Linked DNA regions of Homo sapiens: all the other regions are linked to region 1. Evidence: promoter capture Hi-C in 16 types of primary human blood cells and fetal thymus (Javierre and others, 2016). All regions are on one chromosome and are shown on one strand. Each heading gives the region's core, a stretch centred on a gene start or on the middle of the fragment in contact. The rest is flanking DNA. Distances are from core to core; before and after follow the strand shown. Region 1 holds the start of TCF12 (transcription factor 12). Region 2 overlaps TCF12 (transcription factor 12). Region 3 holds the start of LOC105370832 (a long non-coding RNA gene). Region 4 overlaps TCF12 (transcription factor 12). Region 5 overlaps ZNF280D (zinc finger protein 280D).

Region 1 (5,181 bases), core at 2,604-5,103:
ATTGCTGGGCATCGTGGCTCATGCCTATAATCCCAGCACTTTGGGAGGCTTGAGGTGAGAGGAGCACTTGAGCACAGGAGTTTGAGACCAGCCTGGGCTATATAGTGATACCTTGTCTCTATGAAGAAAAATTTAAAAATTAGCCAGGCGTGGTGGCATGCACCTGTAGTCTCAGGTATTTCAGAGGCTGAGGTGGGAGGATCACCTAATCCCAGGAGGCAAACGTGCAGTGAGCTGAGATTGTGCCACAGCACTTTAATCTGAGCAATAGAGTGAGACTCTGTCTCAAAAAAAAAAATCTATTAGATTATAACTTTCTTGAGGGCAGTATGGGTTTTAGACTTTCTGTCCTGAAACATTTAACACCATGCCCGGCATGTGAGAAATGCACATTAAATACTTTTCAATATTAACTTATCGATAGGGATTAACTTATACTACACAAATAGTACTATTAATTAACACTGAATTTGTATTACTTAGTTGTTTCTCTCTGAGCTTTTCAATAAAGGCTTCTGGCCCTATCTAGATGTGTCAGCAAAGGCCCAGAAATGAGTTATAAGTGATACAAAACTCCACTTTTTATATTCTTTTTGTCTTCTATATAAGTCAGAGCTATTATAGGAGATTCACTGGTGGGAATCATTTTCTCTTATTAAAAATGACACAAGCAAAGGCTATATTATGAAAAATAACTTCATGTTATAATGTCAAATGAATGATAGCTTTAATTCCAGCTCCTCCTTTTTGGGTCTACTATGCTCTTGGCACTACGTTAGGTGCATGGTACTGACAGATGCATGTCAGTCCGAACCCTCAAGGGGTTCACAATCTAATAAGGAAAATAAATTATAAAGTAAAACTATACGGGCCATAATAGATATGAAAAACTTCACCAATCAGTCCCTAAGTAATGAGGGAGCCCCTATGACTGAAGGTTTGGGCAGACAGATATTCTTCCTCTGCACTAGTTGTGTGAGCAGGATGAGAAGAGAATCTTGAAAACAGCATGAATCCAACATGTGGGATCACATACCTTCTCCTTCTGCAAGATTTCTTTCCAGTTTTACTGTGGAGTCATAGAATCTTATCACAGTGCTATGGTTTCAATGTGTCTCCCAAAGTTCATGTGTTGACAACTTAACCCCCAATGCAAAAGTGTTGAGAAGTGAGACCTTTAAGAGAAACTTCTAAGAGGGTAGAGCCCTCATGAATGGATTACTCTCTATTGTGTGTGCTCACTTGCCACGGGATAACACGGCAAGAAGGCCCTCTAAAGATGCCAGTGCCATGCTCTTGGACTTACCGGGCTCCAGAACCATGAGCCAAATAAACTTCTTTATAAATCACTCAGTCTATGGTATTCTGTTAGCAGTAGGAGAAAATGAACTAAAACACATGGGAATGGGGCCTTAAAAATGATCTAATCAGACTTCCTACCTGACGTTTATGTCTTTGCTACTAAAAAAATGGTCATTGGGGTGGTACTGTGTAGACCACACTAGATTACAGACAACAGAAAATTCGAATCCTATTGGTCTAATCAGTGAAGATAGACCTGAATTCAGAAGTTGCTTGATTCAGAGCCTCAAAAATGTCACCAAAGCCAGGCACGGTGGCTCACGCCTGTAATCCCAGCCCTTTGGGAGCCTGAGGAGGGCAGATCACTTGAGGTCAGGAATTCCAGACCAGCCTGGCCAACATGGTGAAACCACGACTCTACTAAAAAAATAAAAAATTAGTTGGGCATGGTGGCGCGCACCTGTAATCCCTGCTATTTGGGAGGCTGAGGCAGGAGAATCGCTTGAACCTGGGAGGCGGAGGTTGCAGTGAGCCGAGATCCTGCCACCACACTCCAGCCTGGTGACAGAGCCAGACTACATCTCAAAAAAAAAAAAAAAAAAAGTCACCAAAGATCAGATCTCTATGCATGTTTGTTTTCTTGATGTCTTCTTTATTTTAACCCGGCTAGACTTGTATTTGGAAGATGGCTACCCACCATCCAGGGGACCCGTTTTTTTGAGGACATGCAGAAAGAATGGGTTACCTCTGAAGCGCTCTCAGAAAATGAAAGAAAAACTTTTCCCAACAAAGACCAGGAAATTGCTCCTCTCATTGGCCCAAATATGTTACGCTCATTGCCAGCCAATAACTGTGGCAGGGAATGGGATTCTGCTGATTTAGGTTGGAATTATGCTACGTTGCTTAGATTGGGACCACATGCCCCTGTAAGTAGGCAGAGCAGGGATGTGACTCAGAACTGGGCTTGTTTACCAAGATAAGGAAGAGTGGATACTGGGGAGTCTAGGCCACCATAAGTTTCAGGTACAGCCAATGCAAAGCCTTGGAAATCCACCTGACAGCTCCGGTTGTACCGTCCGCCCTCCGTATCTGGGGTTTCCAAATTCCGGGATTCAATCAACTGAAAACAAAAAATGTAGTTAGGCTTACCAGGCCTGAAAATACATGAAAATATAGAGCCTAAAATATAGCCTGAAAATGTACTGAAAATATAGAGATTTCTTTGGATGATTATTTCCTAAATACACCTTAACAACTATTCACATAGCATTTGCATTGTATTAGGTTTTATAAGTAATCTAGATATGATTTAAAGTATATGGGGAAACACACCATTTTTATGTAAGAGACTTGAACATCTTAGAAAATCCAGAGTCTGGGAACCAATCCCACGGATATAGAGACAACTGTACTAACTACAGTAATGGCATATGGTAGCTGAATCTACCTCTCTTTCCATCCCAGTCCGGAATCCAAAGGCTCCTTCTTGCCATGTTGTCCTCGGGCGTTGGCTGCTTCCTCCCATTTGTTACTTTGGAAGTGTCTTCTTTCCTCAGTGTTTCTTCTGCGTGGGCCTTACCGGTCTTTACTGCACTCACTTACCTAAGAGGCAAAACAATGGCTGCCATTCAAGAAAATCTCACTTCAGCCCAGAATCGAAGAACTGGGGCTTATTTTGTCTTCTTTCTACTCTGGGGCTTCTCTGAGGCCAAGTTCAGAACTTGTGCACAAGACAGTGGCTGTGTGACAGAGCCACCCAGGGCTGTCTCCGTTAGATGAAGAGACTGGCTTGATCCATTCCCAAGAACTAGTCCCACGTGCAGTTCGGTTGCTCCGAATGGGATTTGGGTGCGAGGGGCTGACTGGAGATGTGGGGTCTGGGTGAGTGGGGTATTTGAGAACCTGAAGCTCACAAGGCTTTGTCTGGTTTGAGGTACGTTTTGCCCTTTCTCCCGCATTCGGCTCTGCATCGAATCTGACCGGCCGCGCCTACTCTCGGAACGGCCGAGGAGGATGGGTCTCCCGTCTCCACACGCGCGGTGTCTGCGCCGACTGCAGCCCTCCTGGACGGGAGCCTCTGGGCCCAGCTTAGGGTGGCGTCCAGCGTGACCTACTCGGGAATGGCAGCCTTCAGTGTCCTGCGGCCTCGGGTTCCGGGAAGCTCGGGGACCTGGGCAGCGGATCCAGATGCTTCCACAGCTGTGTCTCCGTCGCTCCGCTTCGGGGGCCGAGAACCAGCAAGACCAACGCGAGGAGGCGCCACGGTACCTGCCACCCCGCTCCCAGGAGGCCCGGACGAGGCTTCGTCGGCGAGCGGTCGGGGCCTGCTTCTCGAGGTGCCTGCGAGCGCCTCATGCCCCTCCCCACCGGCCCCAACTCCGTCCCGCCTCACCCGACCGCGGGCTTTGTCCACCCGCCGCGGTGCGGCTCCTCCCAGTCCCCGACAGCTCCTCCCCGCCCCCTCTGCCGGCCCCACTTCCTAGGCGGCGGAGCGGGTCGGGGAGGGAAGGGTTAACCCGCGGCTCTTCCCGGCGCGGAGGGATCCGGAGGCGAGCCGAGCGCGGTGGTGAGGCCGCCTCAGCGAAAAAAATGTCCGCCTGAAGAGACCCACAAGTTCTATTCGGGGGGACCGACAGCCCGCCCCGGGAGGAAGGGGCGGCCAGGCCCGAAAGCCGCCTCCCCCTCCCAGACCCGAGAGCTCGTGCGGGGCAAAGTGAACCGAGCCGCTGGGCGGTGCAAGGGGAAGCCCAAGCCCGTTCTCCCGGCCAAAGTGAACTTTAATCGGGGTGGTTGGATGCGGAGACGGGGCGGCAGGTAATTGCGGGCTAGCGAGCGGGAGTGGGGCGGCGCGGCGGGGCTGGGGGCTGCGGGGCGCCGCCGCGTCCCTGCCGGAGTGGGGGCGCCCCCGTCCCCCGCCTCAACTCCGCGCCCCTTTGTACAGCGCGAAACCCGGGGTCCCCTCCAAGTTGGGGAGCGGAGTGGGGGCGGAGGCTCGAGTCGCGGGCGCTCAGGCCCGCTGGCGGCGCGCTCGGCCTGTGCGCCCCGTTCGGTGCCCGACTCGGGCCGGCGCCCAGGCTCCGGGGCGCGCGGGAGATCGGGCGGCTTCGGCCGCGGAGCCAGGCTCATTGTTCGGCAGGTCCGGGGCAGGGCAGCAAAAGTGGGAGGAGGCCGAGCCTGGGGAGGAGGACGCCGGCCGAGAGCGAGACTAGTTGTCGGGGTTTCTGTTTTCTGTTTAAAAACGCCCCTTGGATGAGCTGGGGGTGCTTTCCGACCTCCTGGGCCCGCCGGGGACGTCCGGGCGGCGGCGGCCGCAGACGCGGGCCTGCGAGCGGCGCGTTCCCTGCAACTTGTCAGTTCTATTGTTGCCGAGCGAGTGAGTCACTTCGCATCTCCGCTCGCCGCCGCTCCGCTCGCTGGACGCCGAATTGCCCCTCACCCCGCTCCTCGAGACCCCAGCCGCGGCCGGGCCCGGCGCGCGGAGCACCCGGCGGCGGCGCGGAGCAGGGGGCGCCGAGGAGGTGGCAGAGACTGGCTCGGAAACTTGGGGGAGAGGCGGCGAGTTGCGGGAGCCGCCGCGTCGATCTCGGGCCGCGGCGAGGAACGCGTGGATTCCGGGACCCGGCGCGGGCACTGAGCCCTCCCGCCCCTTGCTCGCGCCGCGGTGGGAGCGAGTCGGGGTCCTGGAAGTCATCCCGGCGCCCCCAGCGCTCTTGCGTAATCTTCCCCAGTACCTCTCTCTGTTCCCTCACACACTTTGGGCCTCGGTGGTCTCTCGCTGAGCCCGTTTCCTCTGCCCTAGGACCTGCTAGAAGTGGCCGAAGATGAATCCCCAGCAACAACGCATGGCCGCTATAGGGACCGACAAGGAGCTGAGCGACC
Region 2 (5,766 bases), core at 887-3,386, 300 kb after region 1:
TTCATGAAATAAATCACTATTTTTTAAAAGAATGCATTTATACATTTTCCAAAGAATGCACTGTACTTCTGGTTGATTTATAGCAAGCACATGACTAGGTGTTTTAAAATAATACTTTTTTGTTTTGCTAAACAAGAGTTCTATTCTTTAAATTAATTACCTAATGTTAATAATTTACTGTGTTTCTACAAAAAAATCTATAAGCCAGAGGATTTTATATATTCTAAAAAAAAAAGAGTAAACTCGGAAAGTTTCAATAGGAGCTATCTTTGTAAGATACTTGATAAATATTATTAAAAGGTACACTAATGAATAACAGTGTTGGTTTATGTCAGAAACTCAGTGTTTTCCTTCTAAATCTTTCACAAATAATTTTACCCTCAGGTGTCTTATGAAAAAATGCATATATGGGCTTAGTGAAGGGGGGGAGAGGGGAGCATTTTTAATGTTAATGTTTTAAGTTATAGAGAATATTCAATTACATTTTACTAAAATGGGCTTAAAATTAGATATGGTTGTCTCTTCCCTTTTCATCACTTGGAAATGTTTTAAAGTAGCCTATGGCTACAACTAGGATACTAAGAACTAATAAAAGCACTTTTTCATTCACTGATTGCTTTAGTAAGGGCTCTTTGGACTGGGCCAGTGTTTGGTTGTGAACTTTTGGGTAAGCTTTCAAAAAAGATAAGCAAGTCAAAATATCTTTAAACTCATTAAAAAGTGTATGTTCAAGCTGCCCATATAAGCAGAGCTTTGGATAATGTAAGAAGTAGATTTAGATGGATGAGTGAAATTATTTAATCTCTATATAATTTTCTTGCCAGCTGTCTTTCAAATGTGAAAATAATTTTCTTTTGTGTCTGATTTTAAGTAAAACAGTCTGAACATGGTATGTGGGTATGTGTGTGGGGTGTGTGTGTGTGTGTGTGTGTGTGTGTGCACGTGTATAAGTTCAGTAAAATTAATTATGTAGGACCCTGAACCAGACTAACTCAAAATGAGTTTAGATTTTATTCTTTGGAAAGCACAGGTTACTGTATTACATTTCTCTTTGTTCTACATTGGGAGGGGGGTAGGGGGAGCTTTGATAGTGGTATTTCCAGGCTTATGGTAGATGGCATAGCTGGTATGGTAGAGAGCCTGGAAAAATTGATAGTCTGTGCCTAATATAGGTCAAAGGTGACTTTTATGTTCTGGAAAAATATATAAATAAAGAGATGATATGTTGGCTTAGTCCTCCAAATCATAAGACCCTAGACTTGTATGTATTTTATTTTTACCCACCTCTAGTTTTTAAAATTATTCTCTAGTAGTTATTAGAAGTCATTGGCAACATTATTATTTTGTGATGACTTCAGTTTTCTTCAATAAGAAAATCGTGGTATGTAATTACATTGTCTCAAGATTATATAAATGTATTATTTTAGTGTATATTGGGAAATGTCTGCTTGTCAATGCCTTAAAATAAAAACTAGCACTTTCATTAACATTTCTAGACTCTTAAGTGAAATATATGTCTTCACTTAAGTTATAGAAGTTTAATATACTTCTTGTCATGAACAGGTTAAATTTAAACTATTTAATCTCATTTTATAGATTTATTTTAAAATGATAGAACAAAATAATATTTTGAAATACTAATAATAAGTTCACATTGATTCATTTTTAACATCCCATTTCAGGTTTTATGAGAGAGTGACAAACCCTAAGTGGTCCTGCTCTTAAACAGAAAGCTTTCTTTCCCTTTTTTCCAGTTTTTTTTTTTTTAGTTTTCGAGTTGATTGCATATATTTAAGGGTATTTCAGATCTTTTAATAAAACTGAACAAACTCTAGGAAGAGACCAAAGAACTTTTTTATATTTTATTACCTAAAATTGTATGGCCAGTATTTTATTCTTGGATATGTAACAGACTTGGGCATGTAGGTGTAGAAAAGAAAAGCCAAAAATGTTAATGCAGTTTTTCCTACTGCTTAAAAAGAGAAGGGGTTAATGTTTTGTATTATATGTAATTTTTGTGTAGCTGTATTCTTTATCATGTTGTAAGGTATTAATGTGGGTTTATAGTAAGTATGAAAACTAAAACTATTTTGCACCTTATACTGTTTTGAAATATAAAAAATAGTAGAGAACAGTGGGTTTCTGAGGTTCCTTCTTTATAAAGAACTCTGCCTGCATTCAGTTTTCTCATTAATTTGAGTAAATTTTGTCCTTTACACAGAAAGTGAGAAAAAAGTCTTGAGAGCAAAGGAAAGAAAAGTTTTGGGGGAAAAAAAGGACTGCCATTTTTTTTTTTTTTTTTTTTTTTTTTTTTTTTTTTTACTTTTAAGATTCTGGAGTGCCTTACTCCATTTTTCTGACCAGTCTCCATTTTTCTTAGTTTTGGGACTAAAGATGCTACAGAGTATTCCAGGTATAAAAATTGCCACACAAACAGACATGATGGCCTTTTCATTGTATGAGGAAATTATTTTAATCTTCTGAGAAACAACACAGAAATCCAAGTTTTAAAATTCAAGCTAGACGCACATTTTGAATATTAAGCTTCTTTGAATGGAATCTGGGAAAAAAAAGAAACTAATTTGATTGTAAGGGCTATTCTGTGGGAGGAACTGTGCTGGGAACTTTGTTTATCTGATTTAATTTTCACAACCACTGTCATTTAGCTGTTACTAGCTCATTTTATAAATAAGGAAAATGAGGTTCAACCTCACCTATTTTGTAAGTACTGAGGTCAGAATTTGAACCCAGGTCTATCTGTCCCCCAAAAGCACATTTTCTCCTTTGTATCATCCAAGGACATGTAAATTAGTCTCCATAGCAAAGGGCCAAACTGAATTTATCCTGACTACCCATTTACATTAAAATATACTACATTGGATCCAATGTGTATTTGGATATGTAAAAATACATATATATACTACATTGGAAAGAAAACGTAACTGGGAAAAGCACAAGGCCACTCTTACAAATCTTTTGCATGTGTGGTCAGAGTAACAATTTCATGAATACTAATTGATGTGGTTAGTCAAGCAAATTTTTGTCAACTTTTGTTTAAGAATTTAAAATTAAAACTTTCAGATACGTTTTAGCAAGTCTCCTCTTCTAATAGAATTAATCATACTGAAAATTGGTTTAGCCATGGTTTTGGCACCTGCCTACCAATGAGGTTTTTTTTTTTTTTTTTTTTTTTTTTTTAGAAATAGAGTAGCAAGTAAGTAAAATTACATTGTAAATACTTATAAGACTTATTTTTAAAACAAACATTTTCAGTTAATAAAAGAACAGAAACCGATGTGACTGTATACAGCTGCATTTCTGTTCTATTGGGGTATTTATTGCTAGTTAACATGAGAGAAGAATATACAATTAAATTAATTCACATTTCCAGACTGTCCATGGGCCCAAAAGAGTTAAATCTAACATTTTTTATAATAGGGAAAACATGAAGTCATTTTTAAAATCTCTTAATATAGAATGCTAAAGACATTGAATGACAAGGACTTCAGCATAAACCTACTTCACATTTTTCCCCTTTACCAAAAATATCTGCGACTATGGTGTGTGAGCCCAAGAAAGTTTTCTTATCTTGATTCAAGTGAGTACAAATACTAGTGAGTTAAAACTAGCTCCTGCTAGTTTTACATACTAGAAGGTATGTTGTCACTGGTCAACTTTATGAATGTTTTTGAGAGAAATTTGTGTTCCTTTCCACTTGTATATCAAAGGGGATCAGGTGCAATATTGTTGAATCTAAATTTTTTTTAAAGTAGGTAGGTAACGTGTCAGTCATTGATTTGTTCAGTATATTATCCTAGCAAACAAGTTTCAAACCCTGTCCCTTAGAAATTCCATAATTGAAGAAAAACATTGAGATTATTAGAAAAATGATAGCACTTATCGTAGAAAATCAGTAATATGCCCAGTGATGTTAATTTAAGATTAACTAAAATGTGCTTGATTTTCCTAGAAAACCAGTGATATGCCCAGTAATGTTAATTTAAGATTAATTTAAATGGGCTTAGAAGGAATTTTTCTCACAGTTGAAAACCAGTAATGTTCACCTGTGTTTGTTACACAGTAAGAGCAGCAGTTGGTTTTAAAATGCTTTGTATGAAAACTAGAATTCATTTTTCTTACTGTTGTTAGAAAAGAAATTTCATTTTATTTTCCCTGGAAAATAAACATGTCTCTGGAAGTTTTTGGAAAGAGATATTGGTCCTTTTACTTAGGAAACTGCTGAAAATATAAACACATATTTATCCCTTTTACAGAATTTCAAGTTGTATTTTTAACAGGCTAATTAGGTAAAAAGAATCTTCCGTGGAGATGGCTTGTATGTGCCTGAGTCAGTCTTTGTACTTCAGACGTTTTGCTTTATAATACCTGTGGTTTCAGTTCTTGTGGTATTTTTACTGGAACTATCTAAATATTTTCCCCCTCAGGCTTGAAATTACCATTAAAAACTCTAGTAGCAGATTGGAGTTTATGGCAGAATTTGCCATTTTATGTAATATGAAAATACTGAAAGCATTGAGATATTTATCAAATCTGTCATTTGTTGAAATATTCTTAGATATTAGGGAATTATTGAATTAGACTATCATTTTAATATTTATCTAGATTTTTAGGTTATTTTCTTTGGGATTACGTTGTTTAAATTTTGATTACCGAAGGAACAAGGAAAGTGAGAAGGCCTAAGTTTCAGAAATTTTTAAATGTTACCATTTAGGTTACTGATATATGCTTTTTTTTTTTTTTTTTTTTTTTTTTTTTTTAAGACGGAGTCTTGCACTGTCGCCCAGACTGGAGTGCAGTGGCAATGGTGTGATCTCAGCTCACTGCAAGCTCCGCCTCCCAGGTTCACATCATTCTCCTGCCTCAGCCTCCTGACTAGCTGAGACTACAGGCGCCCGCCACCATGCCCGGCTAATTTTTTTTATTATTATTTTTAGTAGAGATGGGGTTTCACTGTGTTATCCAGGATGGTCTCGACCTCCTGACCTCATGATCCACCCGCCTCGGCCTCCCAAAGTGCTGGGATTACAGGCGTGAGCCACTGCGCCCAGCCAAGGATATATGCTTTTTATCTGAGGATGTATATAAGATCAGTATTAATACAAAATAACAGATCAGAATGATCTGAAAATGATCAGAAAAATATATAGGAAATGGTTTTTAGGAAATGTCTTTAATTTTCTCTGATATCTTCCTAGCACTCTAATACAAATGGGTATAGTTATTAAAGCAAAATTTTATTTACTCTTCTTAAAAGAGCCTCTTTTTACTAAATTCCAATCCCATAAAATTGAGAAAGAGACATGGGTTGTATATATTGCTACGTGTGGAACTTGCGTAGATTAATCAATTTATTTATTTATTCATTTTTTTTTTCTTTTATTATACTTTAAGTTTTAGGGTACATGTGCACAATGTGCAGGTTAGTTACATATGTATACATGTGCCATGTTTGGTGTGCTGCACCCATTAACTTGTCATTTAACATTAGGTATATCTCCTAATGCTATCCCTCCCCCCTCCCCCCAGATTAATCAATTTAAATTAAATTAATAATTTAAACACTAAAAATCTTAAAATTACCTAGTTTTTTGAATGCTGACTCTTAAATGTACATATGCTTAAAATTATAGGCCTAGAGTCTTAATTACAGTTTTTTAATATAGGGTTTGACCTGGGTTGGGATATTCTTTTATTAATATTTCATTGACCTAGACTTTTTTTTTTTTTCTCAAGGTTTTAGGTACT
Region 3 (5,570 bases), core at 2,323-4,822, 310 kb before region 1:
CTGTCACAAGAATAGACATATAGATAAATGGAATAGAACTGAGAATCCAGAAATAAACCTATAGGTATGGCAGATTTTTTTCATTTTTTGTTGCTATATATATGTAAGATAAAATTTACTCTTAACCATTTTCAGTGTACAATTCAGTGGTATTAAGTACATTCATATGTCTATTCTTGTGCCAGCACCACACTGTTTTGATTACTGTAGCTTTATAGTAAGTTTTGAAATCAAGAAGTGTTTGCCCTCCAACTTTGTTATTCTGTTTTGGCTATTTGGGGCCCCTTACAATTCTATAAAGGTTTGAATATTGGCTTTTCCATTCCTGAGAAAAGAAAGGCTATTGGAGTTTTGACAGGGATAGCATTGAATCTGTAGACTGCTTTGGGTATTGCCATCTTAACAATAGTAAGTCTTCTAATCCATGGACTCGGTATGTCTTACCATTTAATTCGTTCCTCTTTAACTTCTGCCAGCAATTTTTTGTAGTTTTCAGTGTCCAGGTCTTTCACCTCTTGGTTAAATTTATTCCCAGGTATTTTATTCTCAGATCTATTGTAAGTAGATTGTTTGTTGTATTAGTCTCTTTTCACGTTGCTATAAAGAACTACCTGAGAATAGGTAATTTACAAAGAAAAGAGGTTTAATTGACCACAGTTTCACAGGCTGTACAGAAGCTTGGCTAGGGAGGCCTCAGGAAACTTACAATGGTGGTGGAAGGTGAAGGGGAAGGACGAACATCCTACATGCCTGGAACAGGAAGAAGAGCACAAGCAGATGGAGGTGCTACACACTTTTAAACAATCAGATCTTGTGAGAACTCTATCATGAGACAGCACTGCGGGAATGATGCTAAACCATTAGAAACCATCCCCATGATCCAAACACCTCCCACCAGGCCCCACCTCCAACATTTGGCATTACAATTCAACATGAGATTTGGGTGGGCACACAGAGCCAAACCATATCAATTATTTTCTTGGTTTCCTTTTTGGGTTATTCATTGGTGGTATACAGAAACTCAAATGATTTTTGCACGTTGATCTTGTATCTTACAAATTACGGAATTTATTAGCTCTAGTAGCTTTCTTGTGGATTATTTGGGATTTTCTACATATAAGATCATATCATCTGTGAATAGTTTTACTTTTTCCTTTTTAATCTGGATGCCATTTTATCTTTCATCTATCTATCTATCTATCTATCTATCTATCTATCTATCTATCTATCCATCCATCCATCTATCTGTTTTGGCTAAAACTTCCAATACAATGTCAAATAGCTGTGGTGAAAGCAGGCATGTTTGTCTTGTTCCTGATCTTGGGGAAAAGGATTTTAGTCTTGCACCACTGAGTATGATTTCTGCTACGAGTTTTTCATAATTGCCCTTTCTCATGTTGAGGAAGTTCCCTCTCATTCCTAGTTTTCTTGGAGTGCAGTGGCACGTTCTTGGCTCACTGCAAGCTCTGCCTCCCGGGTTTACACCATTCTCCTGCCTCAGCCTGCAGAGTAGCTGGGACTACAGGTGCCTGCCACCACGCCTGGCTAATTTTTTGTATTTTTAGTAGAGAAGGGGTTTCACCGTGTTAGCCAGGATGGTCTCAATCTCCTGAACACGTGATCTGCCCGCCTCAGCCTCCCAAAGTGAGTTTTCTAAGTTTTTATCATGAAAAAGTGTTGGATTTTGTCAAGTATTTTTTCTGCATCAACTGAGATGATCATGTGGCGTTTTTACATTCCATTAATATGGTATATTACACTTATTTTCTCATGTCAAAACACCCTTGGATTCCTGGGATAAATCCTATTTGGTCATGGTATATAATCTTTTAATATGTTGTTGGATTTGGCTCGCTAATATTTTGTTGAGAATTTTTACATCTATATTACTTAGGGATATTGCTCTGTGACTTCCTTTTCTTGTGAGGTCTTTATCTGATTTTGGTATCAGGGTAACGCTGGCATCAAAAACAAGTTAGTAAGTGTTCTCTTCTACTTTTTGGAAAATTGAGGATTGGTGCTAATTCTTCTTTAAATGTTTGGTATAATTCACTGATGAAGCCATCTGACCCTGGACTTACCTTCATTGGGAAGTTTTTGGTTAATGTTTCACTCTCTTTACTTGTTATACCTCTATTCAGATTTTCTATTTCTTCTTGAGTCGGTTTTGGTAATTTGTTGCTAGAAATGTGTCCATGCCATCAAGGTTATCTTTTTTTGGGCATACAATTGTTTAGAGTATTCTCTTATAATCCTTTTTACTTCTGAAAGGTCAATAGTTGTGTCCCCACTTTCATTTCTGATTTAGGTATTTGTGTCTTCTTATAATACTTGATTAGTAAGTTATTTTTCTTAAACTAGCCAGAGCAACTATTTTTCTTAAGCTAGCCAGAGCAGCTTTTCTGCATCCTAAAAATAAGAAGCCAGAGTATCATAGAAGGCATTCTTGACTTGCTCTTGGTTTGGTGGAATTATAAAGTTTGCTTCTACCTGAAATTTCTCTACTTAGATTCAATTTCTATGGACAGTTTTAAACAACATGTTGGCCTGGCAGTGAGAGTGCTTACATGTCAAATTTGTTAGGTTTTGTTTATTTGTTTTATGCATAGTCTCCCTTACTATTGATGTTAATTATAAAATTATTTTAAGAGTTGCAGTTCCGGGTAAGGTGGAGTAAGCACACTCCACTTTGACTCTCCCACTGAATGCGGCTACAAAACCTGGACAGAATGCATATAACAATGTGGAAGGACTGTGAATACAAGATAATAGTATGAAGACTAAAGAACAACGAAATTTGAAGTGGAGTAGACCTAACTGGTAGTGAATAGACCCTTTTCACCCCCCTTTAGTATTTCTCAGTGTGGATTTAAGGCAATCTATAATGTGGAGATAGGTATTGGTATAGCTAGAGAAAGCTTCCAGAGAAGCCTTCTACTCAGGATCAAAGAAGAAGATAGAGATCTCCCGATAGCTACAGGAGCACCAAAATTCTGAGAGGGAGAGGGTTACTTTCCAGAGGTGCTATAGTCTCAAGAGAGTGAGGTGAACACCATTTCTTTTTAAATTCTAACTTCCCTCCACTTATCCCTGGATATGAGTGCAGACATGAAAAATGTAGGGCAGGATGGGGGGTAAATAAAGCCACAGTATTACAGATGGAAGATCAAAAAAGAGGCTTAAGGGACTGGAAGTTACTGGGGAAAATACCTAAAGGGAGGATCTTTGGAAAATTACCAGATAATGTTGTTTATGAATTTCTGGTATCACTTCTGAGGGATGCATGTGTGGTTCTGATCATAAACCAACATACCAAAGACTGAACTAAACTAAGAGATAAACCACATGCCAGGTTTCAGAATGGCCACTGAGCAGCATACATGTGTGACAAATTTGAATAAAACTGAAGGCTTTGAAAATGAAACTGACATTGAAACCACAACCCACAGAAGCTGGTTGGAATTTGCAGCCAGAACCCAATAAGGTCAATTGCCTACTAAAACAAATATATCAACATTCTCCATAGGATTTAAATAAACCCAGAGTCCCTTAACATTATATTTGAAATTTCCAGGATACATTCCAAAACTACTTAGTATATGAAGAACTAGGCGAATCTGAGCTCACATGAGAAAAAGATGATCAACACACACCAATGCTGATTTGACACAGGTGTTAGAATTATCTGACCAAAATGCTAAAGCAGCTATTATTAGTATAAAGGTGCTCCAGGAAGTAAGGACATACACTCTTAAAATGAATAAAAAGATATAAAGTCTCAGCAAAGAAACTGAAGACATAAAGAACCAAATGATAATTTGGGAACTGAAAAAAATATGTAATCACTAAATTTTTTTAAAAAAATCTCACTAGATAGTCTTAATAGCAGAATGGAGATGACAAAAAAATGAGTCAGTGAATTCGAAGATAGGTTAATAGAAATTACCTGATCCGAAAATAAAGAAAATATTTCTTAAAAAAGTAAAGAACCTAAGGAGCCTGTGGGACAGTACCAAAGGTCTAATGTTTGTGTTATCAGAGACTGACAAAGAGGAGAAAGGAATAATGTCTAATATCATTTCACATCCACTAGAATGGCTACTCCCAGAATTCCTGAAATTAACATGTGTTGGCAAGGATGTGGGAATTGGAACCTGTGGATTCATAATTAGGGAAAAGGAGTCAGGCTGGCTGGACACCAAGGCAAAGCAAAAAGAGAAAGCAGATAAGCTTCAAGTCTGCCTTTCTTCATGGTCCACTACACATTGCCCTCCTGGGTCCAACTATCATCAGACACCTGCAAGTTAGCTCACTGCAACCTTAGCATTATCAGTATTGCCTGTAGCACTCTTCAGCATAAGAAGCATTCTTGTTCTTATTTCCTTGTTTCCTTGCAGTCAGCTACTCTTCTGCTGATTCCACCTATAGCTCCCTGGCAACGTACTTTTATACTTTCTTTAACCAATCTGCCTTTCTTTACCTACAACTATCTTGGTAAATTCTTTTACCTCTGTGCCACCAGCCCAGACAGTCATCGCGCACCCAAGACGGAACCCTTGTAAATTGCTGGTGGGAAGTTAAAATGGTGCAGCCACTATGGGAAGTTTGGCAGCTCCTCAAAATGTTAAATATAGAATTACCATATGACTCAATAATTCCACTGCTCAATATATACCCCAAAGAATGGAAAACTGGGGCTCAAACAGATACTTGTACACAAATATTCCTGGCACCATTATTCCCAATAGCCAACAGGTGGAAACAACTAAAGTGTCCATCAAAAGATGGACAAACAGAATGCACAAAATTTGATATATATGTACGATGGAATATCACTCAACCACAAAAAAAGAATGAATTCTGATACATGCTACAACATGAAGTTGAAAAACTTATGCTAAGTGAAATAATTCAGACGTGAAGACAAACACATATTTTATAAGGTATCTAGAATACACAAAGTCATAAAGACAGAAAGGATTAATAGAATTGAAATTACTAGGTACTAGGGGCAGGGGGAATGGGGAGTTATCGCTCAATGGGTAGAGAGTTTCTGTTTGGGATGATGAAAAATTTCTCAAAATAGTGGTGATGGTTGCATAAAACATTGTTTATATACTAAATGCCACTGAATTATACACTAGAAATGTCAAAGTGGTAAATTTTATTTTCTGTATATTTTACCACAATAAAAAGGGGGAGGATAAATAACAGCAAAAAACTCCTCCCATATTTTGCAGAAGATATAAACTTACAGATTCAAGAAGTTCAGTGAATCTCAAACAGGAAAAATCCCAAACAAATCCACAACCAAACACTGTGAGAATTGATTATATGAATTGGAGTTATCATGCCCAATTAAATTAGAGTCAGGAGACCAGGGGAAGAAAAGAAAAGAAAAGCACTCAGGGCACAAGTGCCTGCCCAGGGACTGTCTCCTAAGCCAACTGCCAAAATGATCTGCTACAACCTTAAGACTATTTTTACCTAGTAGCTGCTAAGATGAACTGCCATGACTTTAAGCCTAGTTTTACCTACCCATCATTACTCACCAATCAGAGCTTATGAGC
Region 4 (5,866 bases), core at 2,157-4,656, 320 kb after region 1:
ACCTGCATTTTGGGGGCTTTTTTTCTCAAAGGTCATTTGTTTGTTTTATTAAAGAAAACTTCTATCAGGGAACCTTGGCCTACAGGCAGGCAAGAATTTGTGATGTTCTCAGTGGCCCTTCAAGTTCATTTTGTTACCCTTCACATCCTTGAGTATCTTCCCCTGTTATAAACAGCATACTAGCCAAACCAAAATGGCATTTGGAAAAGAAAACCCAAATTCACCGTGAATGGAATCCAGTGAAGAAATGTTTAATCTAGTTAGTGGGTGGGCTTTGGTTGTCATGGAAACTCAGCTCTGTCATCCTGTGTTGTTACTAGGCAGGAGCAGCCAGGTCATTCCATAAATCATTTCTGTCATAGCTGACGGTGATGCATTCCATCTGCTCCATCACTGCATGCCATAGTCTGCACATTTCAAATCCCTTCCTTCAATCCATCTGCTTCCCCACTTCCCAGCCGGACACCTCCCCAAATACATTCTTTTTCCAACTTTCCTTACAGACTCGCATTCACTTTAATATATGTTTAGTGCACTCAAAACGTACTGAAAAAGAAAAACATTACATTATCTGGGGATAGGAAGGATTAGAAGAGATGAGGAGAAGGAAATTAATGAGGATTACTTTTGAGAGTCTGACATGCATATCATAATTTTATGTCAGGTATTATAGATATTTTGAAATGGTGACTGACTCTTTTGAAATTTTAAGTTCTTTAGAATGTGACGCTTTTAATATAGCCTCTGGTTTTAGATGGAGAAACACTATGCTATTGTCATTAAAAATTAATTCTATTTCCCCAATTGTCTAATATATGTCTTAAAAGATCTTTCATATTGTGAAACATCAGAGGGTACAACCTTTGTTCTTCAGTTTAGGTATTAAAGAGCACACAGAATACTGTGTGATTAAACATGTAAGGCCAGATAATGCATTTGCAAAGGTTCCTTTATTTTAGGTTTAAGCCTGCATAATTGTGGTCTTAATCTCAGGATAGCAAGAAAGAGAATTGTACATGAAAGTATTTACACAAAGTTCCCAAAGCCCTGTGGATTATGCATTAGTTTAGATAAAAAAAAAGAAAAAAAAAAAACCTAGGGTAGATAGAAGGAAAGGAAAATCTGGGTATTCGTGCCATTTCTAATGTGTTTCCCTGAACATTTGCCAGACAATAACCCTTTAAGATTGTGCCCGTGGAGAGTTATATAGAGGAAGAAACATCTGGTTTCTTTCGGTGCCTAATACCATATCAAAACACTTGGTCTTTAATTTAGAGGAGATCAAACAAGAAGACTGTTTAACTTTGTTGATTATATCAGACTTCTTTGTGATAATTTATGTTTTGATTTCTACCTCAGAGCAAGGGAAAAAGAGAGAGAGAGAGTGTGTGTGTGTGTGTGTGTGTGTATATGTATGTGTGTATTAATCTGGATAAATGGTCAGTAGTCTCTAACAAAAGAAAAGAAAATTCAGGGAAGTTGATGTTTAAAAGTAATTCATGAAATAACTTTCTTTGTTCCTTAGACTCAATAACATTAGCATAATAAAGATTAACTGAAATGTGCACTGTAGTGTTTAAAAAATTGGGCTCACAGTTCCGGGGTTGGGCTTGGGAGCAGTCCATTGTTTCTTTTTTGTCTAAAGCCCTTTTCATTAGCCTCTGGCTTATTGGCACCCTGCTGATTGGAATAGACCATGACTGATAGGAGGAGGAGTCTCATTTGTTGGAGTAAAATGAGGCATATTACCGTTTAAGCCTGGCAGAAGGCATTGGGAGTTATTCATTATTGGTCATTTAACAGTATGAGGACCATGGACTGCATGCAGAATGAGTGCTTACTTTGTTTATGCTCTAGACTCTAAATCACTCTTTACCCCCATTTTTTTAAGTAACTGATTTTGTTCTTCTTTTTATTCTTACCTTCAAACATCAATGTAGGAGTTCTTTTAAGTCCAGAAAGTATGAAAAGAAACATATTCCTGATTTAGAATAAAGCCAAATAAAGCCTGTGTTTAGAAGTTAAAGTAGCACAATTTTTATAGAATAAGTATGATTTGTTTGCGATTTGGTAATAAAATAAACACTCAGAGATAAAGCTTAGTGAAATGACCTGTGATCCAAAAGGCTGTGTTATCATGCTTTTCAAATGTTGTATTGCTCCTCCTCTCCCACCATACACATTCTTTTTATGAAAGTAAAAGTGATTTTTTAAAAAGTCCTGTAACTTACAGGGCTATCTGTAAATTTAGGAAAAGTATTGATAACAATTCTGTCTGTCATCACTTTAACTGGCAAAGTAGAACCAGTGACTGTGATGGATGAGTGGAAAAATTGGCTTTTATTGTACAAATGGAGAAGCTGCTTTTGGAAAAAATACCAGAAATGATATATTTTTATACTTGATATGTTTTTGGTGCTGTTTCTCCCGTTTAGACAGTGATTTTTTTTTTTAAGTTTACACCAGTTTTACATATAGCATTGGGGCATTTCACCAAGTCATTTAAAGATAGTGCTCTTATATGACTCTAAACTATTACCTCTTCCTTCCTTGATATAAAGGAGCTTTCACCAGTTGTTGACATGGTTAGGGATTGTTTAAGTGTAAGGACAGAGTTTTCAGGGAAAATCGGGATTGGTAGTCCATTTCTACCCTCAAAAGCCCATGCCTACCTAACAGTGTGATATGGACAGCTTAGTACATCAACACTAATTCCCAGAAATAGTGAAACCTCACCATATGATTATTCTCAAAGCTTATGCCATAAAACTGATTTGAAATTAAGTCATATTTATAACAAGCTCTTTTGCCCTTGGTATTTCTGTTGCTGACCCACATTGTATAAATACCAAGATAAATACTACCATTTATTGAGTCCTGCTTTTTATCAGTTAGTATTATAGCAAATTTCAATTGTAGTTTAATCACTCAAGTTAAAAATATATATATTGGGCACCTACTTTTACAAGATACTGGCATACAATAATGGATTCAATGTTGACCAGTATAAGTTTCCTGTCTTCAAAGAGCTTGTAGTCAAGGAGAGAAGACAGATATACAAATAATGATAATGTATAACACAGTGTGAAGTAAAAGAGCAGAGAGAAGTTCAGACTATTTTCTAAGAGTATAAGGAAGGTGAAAATGTATAAATGGGGAAGTGACATTGGAACTGAGCTTTGATAAGTAGAATTCCATCTGGGAGAGGTTAAGAAACAAGCGTTCTGAAAGGAGGACAAGCTGTGTTTAGAAAATGAAAAAAATATTTTGTTTGCATAATAGGGTATGTAGGTTAAAAGTAGACTATAAGGGCTAGGCAACACCACGCCTGTAATCCCAGCACTTTAGGAGGCTGAGGCAGTGGGATCACCTGGGTCGGGAGTTCGAGACCAGCCTGACCAACACGGAGAAACCCCGTCTCTACTAAAAATACAAAATTAGCCTGGCATGGTGGTGCATGCCTGTAATCCCAGCTAGTCGGGAGGCTGGGGCAGGAGAATCGCTTGAACCCAGGAAGCAGAGGTTGTGGTGAGCTGAGATTGCACCACTGCACTCCAGCCTAGGCAACAAGAGCGAAAGTCCATCTCAAAAAAACAAAGAGGAAGAAAAATTAGCCGGGTATGGTGGTACACGCCTATGTAATCCCAGCTGCTTGGGAGGCTGAGGCAGTAGAATCACTTAAACCTGGTTGCAGTGAGCCGAGATCGTGCCACTGCACTTCAGCCTGGGCAACAGAGCAAGACTCCATCTCAAAAAAAAAAAAAAAAAGTTTTTGAGGACAGTAGTTCAGGGCAATTATGTATAGGATGGAAAGAGAGGGGAGTAACTAGAAATATAAACACTTAAGTAGTCCAGCCGCAAGTTTGAGTAAAGATTTAAAGTGGTGTCATGGCAGTGATTATGACATGTGCCTGTCCCAGAAACATTAGAGAATTGTGGATATCGGTGTCTCCAGAGGGAAGGGTAGAGTGGCAGAGGAAAAGAGGAGAGAGTACTTATGGTAACCATAAGCATGGTGCTACTAACCTAAATAGAAGAGTAGAGATGGGAAGGATGGGAAGCTTGGGGTGGTGATAAAAAATTTGGGTTTGGACATAACTGCGCTTGAGATGAAAAGAGATCCTGTCCAGATAGAAAAGTCTAGCAACCAGTGTGACAAGAGAGATACCAATTTAGGAGTCATACCTGGATGTGATAGTTGATATTTGACAAAGAATACTATTACCAAGAGATAAAGCACAGGGAAATGAAAGAATACTGAGACTAGAACTCTGGGGAAACCTACATTAAGGGAAATGGAAGAGTAAAATAGAGATGGACCCTAGGGACTTTATCAAATACAAAGACTGAAAAGAATCACTTAAATGGAAATTCCTGGCAAGGATTATGCTTTTCATTCTTAATGACAACTGTATATCTGTACATTGAACCCTCACCATTTATCTGCACTGTTGTGGAATCTGAGGCTACATTAATAAGACAAATTCCTCATTCTTCTGGGGCTTATATTTTACCATGGGAAAGGATAAAAAAACAGGTAACAGACAAATGTAGATGATTAGAAATACAGTGTAAGCACTATGAAGAATACGAAAGAAGGAGTATGTAACAGAAAATGCTGCTTCATGAGTTGGGCTAGTTGACAGTTTTGCATAGAACTGACGATTTCTCACTCATCCATCCACCATCAGTGTTATCAGCCTTTCCCTCCCTTGCCAATATTGTAGTCAAGACATATTTCATAAAGATGAGCATCAATTGCTCATAAATGGTATAATTATTTGAATTATGAACATAAGAAATGGTGGTTTTCAGTGGTAAAGAGGTATGTTGAGGGCCGGGTTCAATGGCTCACGCCTGTAATCCCAGCACTTTGGGAGGCCAAAGCAGGCAGATCACTTCAGCCTAGGAGTTCAAGACCAGCCTGGGCAACATAGCGGAACCCCATCTCTACAAAAAATACAAAAATGTTGGGTGTGGTGGTGAGGGCTTGTAGTCCCAGCTCCTTGGGAAGTCAAGGTGGAAGGATTGCTTGAGCCCAGGAAGTTGAGGCTGCAGTGAGCCATGATTGCACCACTGCATTCCAGCCTGGGTGACAGAGCAAGACCCTGTCTCAAAAAAAAAAAAAAAAAAAAAAGAAAGGGAAAAGGTATGTTGAAACATGTTTTGTTTCTGTTGAAGTTTGATGACCTTCCCTAATTTACTTATGTGGTTGAAATAAATCAATGTATGTGTGCAAAGCCACTAAGAACAAAAATGTACTTTCCCAAGCTAATTTTCCCATGTGTCCAATGAATGTTTTAAAAGGTAACAACTTAAAAACCAATAATATTGATTTTTTTTTTTTCATACACTGTCTTACTCTGTCACCCAAGCTGGAGTGCAGTGGCTCGATCTCGGCTCACTGAAACCTCCACCTCCCAGATTCAAGCGATTCTCCTGCCTCAGACCCCGCGAGTAGCTGGGATTACAGTCGCCCACCACGCCCGACTAATTTTTGTATGTCTAGTAGAGACGGGGTTTCAGCATGTTGGCCAGGCTGGTCTCGAACTCCTGACCTCAGGTGATCCACCTGCCTCGGCCTCCCAAAGTGCTGGGATTATAGGCGTGAGCTACCGCACCCGGCCTATTATTGATCTTATACTACCTCTCTGTTACTAGATCCTCCCAAAGTGTTTTGAACTCTTTTCCATAGCTTTACTTTTCCAAAATAGCTTTTTAAATAGAGTATACAGTGTCTAGATCCTGAAAATAGAGTATACAGTGTCTAGATCCTGACTGTTTGAGATAGTTGATGTATAAAGGCATTTACAATTATAAGTTACTAATGTCATACAAATTGGCGTATTTTGTTTGAAGTGCATAT
Region 5 (5,352 bases), core at 61-2,560, 280 kb before region 1:
TATAAAACAGACAAACAGATTTTGATGTAACAAAGCAAAAAAAGTCAGTGATACGGAGCTAGATTCCACAGTGCAACAAGCAAGAAAACTTCCACTTTTGGTGCAGTATCAAAGGAGAATAATCACAATTATTGGAAAAGATTATTGAAGTACTGGGTGAGGCTGGGTATTCTTCATACATTTCAACCAAAAGAATGTATCACAACAGATTGGATTCAGAAACATGAGAATCCAATTTTTTTCTACTAAGCTTGACATTAAAGAAATATGCAAAAGTGTAAAATCAAGCCATTCTTTCTCACTAAATTTCTGTTGCTTTGGAAAATAGTTATTTTTCAGAAAAAAAATGTGATTTATGTTAACATATATTTATTATTTTTATTTTTGACAATAGTTTTAAAATATCATTATTTCAATTTCTAATATGGTAAACATTAGTAATTTTTGAGACTACAAAGGATATATTTAAATAGTATCCGCAGGAGTTCTGCAGTGTTCAACCTGAATGGCTATGCAAGACAGCCCTGTCTCCATTCAAACACATACGGTTTTCAATGATTATTTTAGCCTCATTCTTTAATTATGTATGGGCGGGTAAGGATCACCACATAACAAAAGACATACCTTAACATGAAAAATACCAAAAAAAACAAAAAGGAATAAAGAAAGGGGCTTGGAGACATCAGATACATTGCTGGGAACAAAAGAAAAAAGTATATATACAATATTTAATATCTCCAAAGAGGTATATGTTATTATATCCATTAAACAGTAACAAAAACTGTAAAAAAGAGAATTAAAGAACAAATAAAAAGTTACAGAGCTCTTCAAAATTACAAATATGGCAACTAAAATAAGTAATTAAGTTTAGAAAATTATTTAAAAAGATTGAAACAAAAAAACAAAAAGATGAAAGGCCAGAAAGAAAATAACATACAATTAAATGAGCTAAAAAAAAAAAAGGAGTTGATGCAGGAGGCTCAGTGTCAGAACAATGTCAGAACAATAGGAGTTTCTTAAAAAAAGGAGAACACAGAAAATAAAAGTGAGCATTTACCACAGAAATGAAACAAGAAAACTTCTCCCAAACAGAAATCTCCAAACTCCAAAGGTTTGTCAGATGCCTAATACAATGAATGAAAAAAGGATGGGTGAACATATCATGCGATTTCAAAACACCAGTGACAGAGATAATCACTAAAGTTTCCAAAAAGAAAAAAAGTAACCTAAATACCAAGAAACTGGAGCAAGACATGCATCAGACTTAATACAAATACTGGATATAAGAAGATAGTAAAAACAACATTTTAAAAACTGCATGGGAATTATTTTTATGTACTTCAGCCAAACTATCATTCGCATAAATATATTTTTAGATATGCAAAAACTGAAAAAAGATGCACACCTTCTCAGGAAGCTAGTAGAGGACACAATTCATCAAAATGATGAGTAAGCCAAGAAATGAGGAATAATTCATGGTTCAGCAAACAGGACATCCAATACAAGGGAGTGGCAAAGGATAATCTTGACATAACAAAACTAAGCACAGGCTTAGGGAGCAACTAGTTTAAGTTGAGGCGGGGAGTCTGGGAGGAGATCTTCAGACCCCTTCACTCCCCAGCGATTTTTTTTTTATGTGTGTGAACACTGGAAAAACTATTTCCAAATATTTGAGAGAGAAATTGCAACGTTAGAAAAAAATACAGCATTAGGTGCACAGAAAACTAAACAAACGAGTAAAAAAGATACATATTTTTAACTCCAGAAAAATAACATAAGGTACAGAAAAGGAAAAGAAATCATGGGGTACTTTCTGGCTCAGCATAACAGTCTCAAAAATTTTGATGTAACTATTCTGCAATCAGTGCTATACCAAGCCATATTGAAGCCTGAGGCAAAAGAAAAAATGAATGCCCCTATAAGTTTTGCTTTGTGTGTGGTGTGTTTTTGTTTTGTTTTTTGTTTTTAGCAACAGGGTCTCACTTTGTTTCCCAGGCTGGTCTCTAACTCCTAGACTTAAGCAATCCTCCCAGCTCTGTCTCCAAAGTGATGGGATTACAGGTGTGTGCCATTGTGCCCAGCCTGTTTCTGTGTATTTAAAAAATTTTTTTTCTAGAATGTTAGTCAGAAAAATATTGAAAAATTTAAAAGTAGGAGAATTAAACTCACATTAGCTTAAACTTAAAGATTTTATTTATGCCAAAAACAGTATTATTTTATTCTCCTGGCTAATGGAAGCAAATGCATCAACAGTACATTTTCAAATCTAATTCTTTTCTTATTTTGTTTTCAAATGAGCAAACTGTCATGTACAATTTCTCTTGAACAAGTGACAATCATAAAAAAATGTTATATTAACTTCAGTTTACAGTAAGCTTCATTTGCAGGATTCCACTGTGGCTGGAATTGTTTAAAATTTTTGAATACCATTTCCAAATCTGTTTAAGACTGCACTAAGCAAAATATGTTAAGAAGGTTTAGAAGACCCAAACACAAACTTGATTGTATGTTATTGATATCAAATGCTGCTTTAAACTATTTCATATAGAATTTCTATAGAATTTAAATCGTCAGAATATTTAAGTGCAAACTTAGTGGCTCGTCTTTGTAAATCAGATGTATTTATACAAAACAATTTTTCTCCAGTTTAGAAATTCAAAATCTGAAAACATTTCACTGAATTTTTTATATCTCTATACAAAATATGAAATTAGGGCATTTATAATCTTAATTTCTATTTAATAAGCACTGCCCTCATAATTATCAATACTCTTCACCCAGTGACTCATGCATTTCTCATTTGTTTACTTTTTTCATTTATTTTAAAATTTGAGAAGAATATGCATATCTCTTGCTCAAGTTTTATGTTCATCAAATACACTTTCAAAATTACCTTCAATTGTTGTAAGCAAAGGGATAGGCCTTTTATTAAGTGTGTAGCTTTATATTAGTCATGTTTACTGACTGTAAAGCTTTAGCTTCTTCCACTTGGCTCAAAATATCCATACAGATAATCTGCATAACACTTTGTAATCTATTCATACCAATATGCTTTCAATTTCAGCATAATGTATTTTGTCATTTGATATTATATCTTTTAATATTTGATAATCATCTTTAATTTGTGTGCAAAGTGTCTCAACTGCATTTATCTTGATGCCCATAATGTAACTATATGTGATTTTAATGTCGTTTTTAGACCAGACAAGAATATCCTGTTTGCTCACTGAATTCCCCTACCCCTAAACTATATATCCTTTGTACAATACTAAAAAAGTTGATCATATTTAAATTCACAGAATGCAGCATTTTCTTCTGTTAAATTATGATGAGTTAAACAAGGAACAAATTAGGCATAATTATTTTAGGGGCAAACAGTGGCTTGTATACCCCTGTATAAACCGGAAACATTTGCTCCATTATATCCCTGGCCAGAATTTTTAATGTAAATGCGATAAACAGAAATGAAGACTACATAAAGAAATGAAGAGTATAGGAAATGGTAAAAATAAAGGTAAATATAAAGCTAATTTTAAAGTTTTTAATTGCCCTAAAAAAACTGTCTAAAGTAAAAACTGTAATACTGCATTCTGTGTATTTACAACATGTTTAAAATTAAAATATATAATAAGAATAGAAAAAGCACACAAACTGTCAATATCATGAATGAGAGGGGATATCACTGCAGATTCCAAAGATTACAAAGACAATAAGGGATACTATAAGCAACTTTCTCAATATACATAAGATTCGAGTTCAACATATTAGGTAAAATGAACCCATTCCTCAAAAAAACTACAAACTACCAAAACTCCCTCAAGAAGAAATAGATTAAAAAATTTAAAAACCTGCATCTGTTAAAGAAATTTGTAGTTGAAAAACTTTTAAACAAAAGAAAACTTTCTATGGTACAAAAGAAAGCTGCTTGGAAGAAGGCTGATACTTCTGCCTGGATTTCACTTATATTATGCGCCATTCAAGACAAAGTATTCAAAAGATAAATGTCAAATCTACCTCACTTCATTACACTCAAAAAGAGGCAAACAATCATTAAGTAATATCAACATAAATTGACATCAAGAAAGCAAGTAGTTGAGCAAAACTATTTCTACAGTCATCTATTAGACTGTCCGGTAAATAACATTTATATGATAATTCTGAGTTCTGCATTCAGAGTACTTGTTTAAAACATATTTAAGATACATCCAAAATATTTCTATTTTAAAAATTAGTTTAACCTTTTGACAGTTAAAATATCCCAGAAAATTAAACCTGGAAAGATTAATTTTTCCAGTGTGCCAAATGATTGAGGTTTTACTGATTTGGGGATTTTTAATTCATAAATTTATCTCCATTACTCACTAGTTGAACTAAATAACAGGCAAGTGAAATATAAGATGTCTTTGTCAAAACAAGAATACCTTAAAATTTTACTTAGGGCTAGATATTTTTATATGTAATGAAAAATTTTAAATCTCGATTTTTTTTCTTCCTCACAACATCCCAAATATTGTTGATGTATGCATGCTGAAATTGAAAAAAAATTTTATATCATACCAATAATACTTTCAAATGTATAAACCTTTAAGGTATAAAGTAAAACAAACTTTACCTTAGACACAGGTTCTTGTTCCTTTGCGGGAGCTTCTTTTTTTAATCTTGAAAACAAGATAAGTATTGAATATTTTATTTTATATGTACGATGGTAAAATATGAAACAGTTCTTTCTCTGCCAGCCTAAAATAATTAAAATGTAGATCGAAACTAATGTACATTTTATACTTTAATAGTAAATTGACCTCTGTAAATGTTTTAAGGTAAAAGTTAAACGTATGAGACTAAATAGTAGATTCGATAAATGTGCTAAATCAATAAAGACATTTATTTCCTTGTTCTCTAAAAACAAGGACACTTAAGAAATGTTCTCTTTGCTAAGTACAATTTAAAATAAAAGACATACACATTAGTAAAACAGTTTCAAAACAAGAATTACTCTTTAAAAATTAAAAGCAGGTTATATGCTTACATAAGTAATATGCATCAGTATTTACGATTACAGGACTTAAGTGAAAAAAGATAAATATTTTATCTATTGTGAAATTCAACTAAATATAACAATATTATAGTTAACTTACTCTGGAGGCAGTAAAATCACAGAAGTAATTAGAATTTTGAGGAATATATTCTCTTTAAAACCTCCATAAGCACTGCTCAAATATTAAAACTTCTTGATTTCTAAAAATATTAATTATAACTTATTAAAACATTAACAAAGGTATATGCCATCCAGAAAATCTTGTAAAATAATCAATTTAATCTAAGAACTAGCTTATCCAAAGGATCTTTGTTTTA

What was found. Contacts are between HindIII fragments. The CHiCAGO score rates a contact against its expected background, and 5 or more counts as called.
Region 2: a fragment that was not itself captured here is called in contact with the fragment with the promoter of TCF12 in region 1 in 2 of 17 cell types (non-activated CD4 T cells and total CD4 T cells); the score reaches 7.6 in non-activated CD4 T cells.
Region 3: a contact is called between a fragment that was not itself captured here and the fragment with the promoter of TCF12 in region 1, in 1 of 17 cell types (fetal thymus). The highest score is 5.5, in fetal thymus.
Region 4: a contact is called between a fragment that was not itself captured here and the fragment with the promoter of TCF12 in region 1, in 2 of 17 cell types (activated CD4 T cells and non-activated CD4 T cells). The highest score is 5.6, in activated CD4 T cells.
Region 5: a fragment that was not itself captured here is called in contact with the fragment with the promoter of TCF12 in region 1 in 1 of 17 cell types (fetal thymus); the score reaches 5.6 in fetal thymus.

What each region holds. Positions count from the first base shown.
Region 1 is chr15:56,914,791-56,919,971 of GRCh38, forward strand. It overlaps TCF12 (transcription factor 12), which reads left to right and starts at 3,854. Exons shown (of 21, transcript NM_207037.2): 1 at 3,854-4,116; 2 at 5,102-5,181. The coding sequence starts at 5,124. TCF12-DT (TCF12 divergent transcript) reads right to left here and starts at 3,709. Exons shown (of 4, transcript NR_015419.2): 1 at 2,750-3,709; 2 at 2,275-2,422. RefSeq lists silencers at 3,014-3,153, 3,674-3,803, 3,974-4,023, 4,114-4,403, 4,454-4,893. The HindIII fragment of the contact is 11,533 bases long and covers 1-5,181 here.
Region 2 is chr15:57,220,474-57,226,239 of GRCh38, forward strand. All of the region lies in intron 8 of TCF12 (transcription factor 12), which reads left to right. Among named protein-coding and RNA genes, the nearest start is that of SNORD13D, 55 kb to the right of the region's middle. The HindIII fragment of the contact is 811 bases long and covers 1,732-2,542 here.
Region 3 is chr15:56,604,932-56,610,501 of GRCh38, forward strand. LOC105370832 (a long non-coding RNA gene) reads right to left here and starts at 665. Exons shown (of 4, transcript XR_007064652.1): 1 at 445-665. The HindIII fragment of the contact is 1,312 bases long and covers 2,917-4,228 here.
Region 4 is chr15:57,235,765-57,241,630 of GRCh38, forward strand. The region is part of intron 12 of TCF12 (transcription factor 12); the gene reads left to right. Among named protein-coding and RNA genes, the nearest start is that of SNORD13D, 40 kb to the right of the region's middle. The HindIII fragment of the contact is 1,306 bases long and covers 2,754-4,059 here.
Region 5 is chr15:56,638,340-56,643,691 of GRCh38, forward strand. ZNF280D (zinc finger protein 280D) reads right to left here. Exons shown (of 22, transcript NM_017661.4): 20 at 4,613-4,658. Among named protein-coding and RNA genes, the nearest start is that of ZNF280D, 92 kb to the right of the region's middle. The HindIII fragment of the contact is 2,125 bases long and covers 249-2,373 here.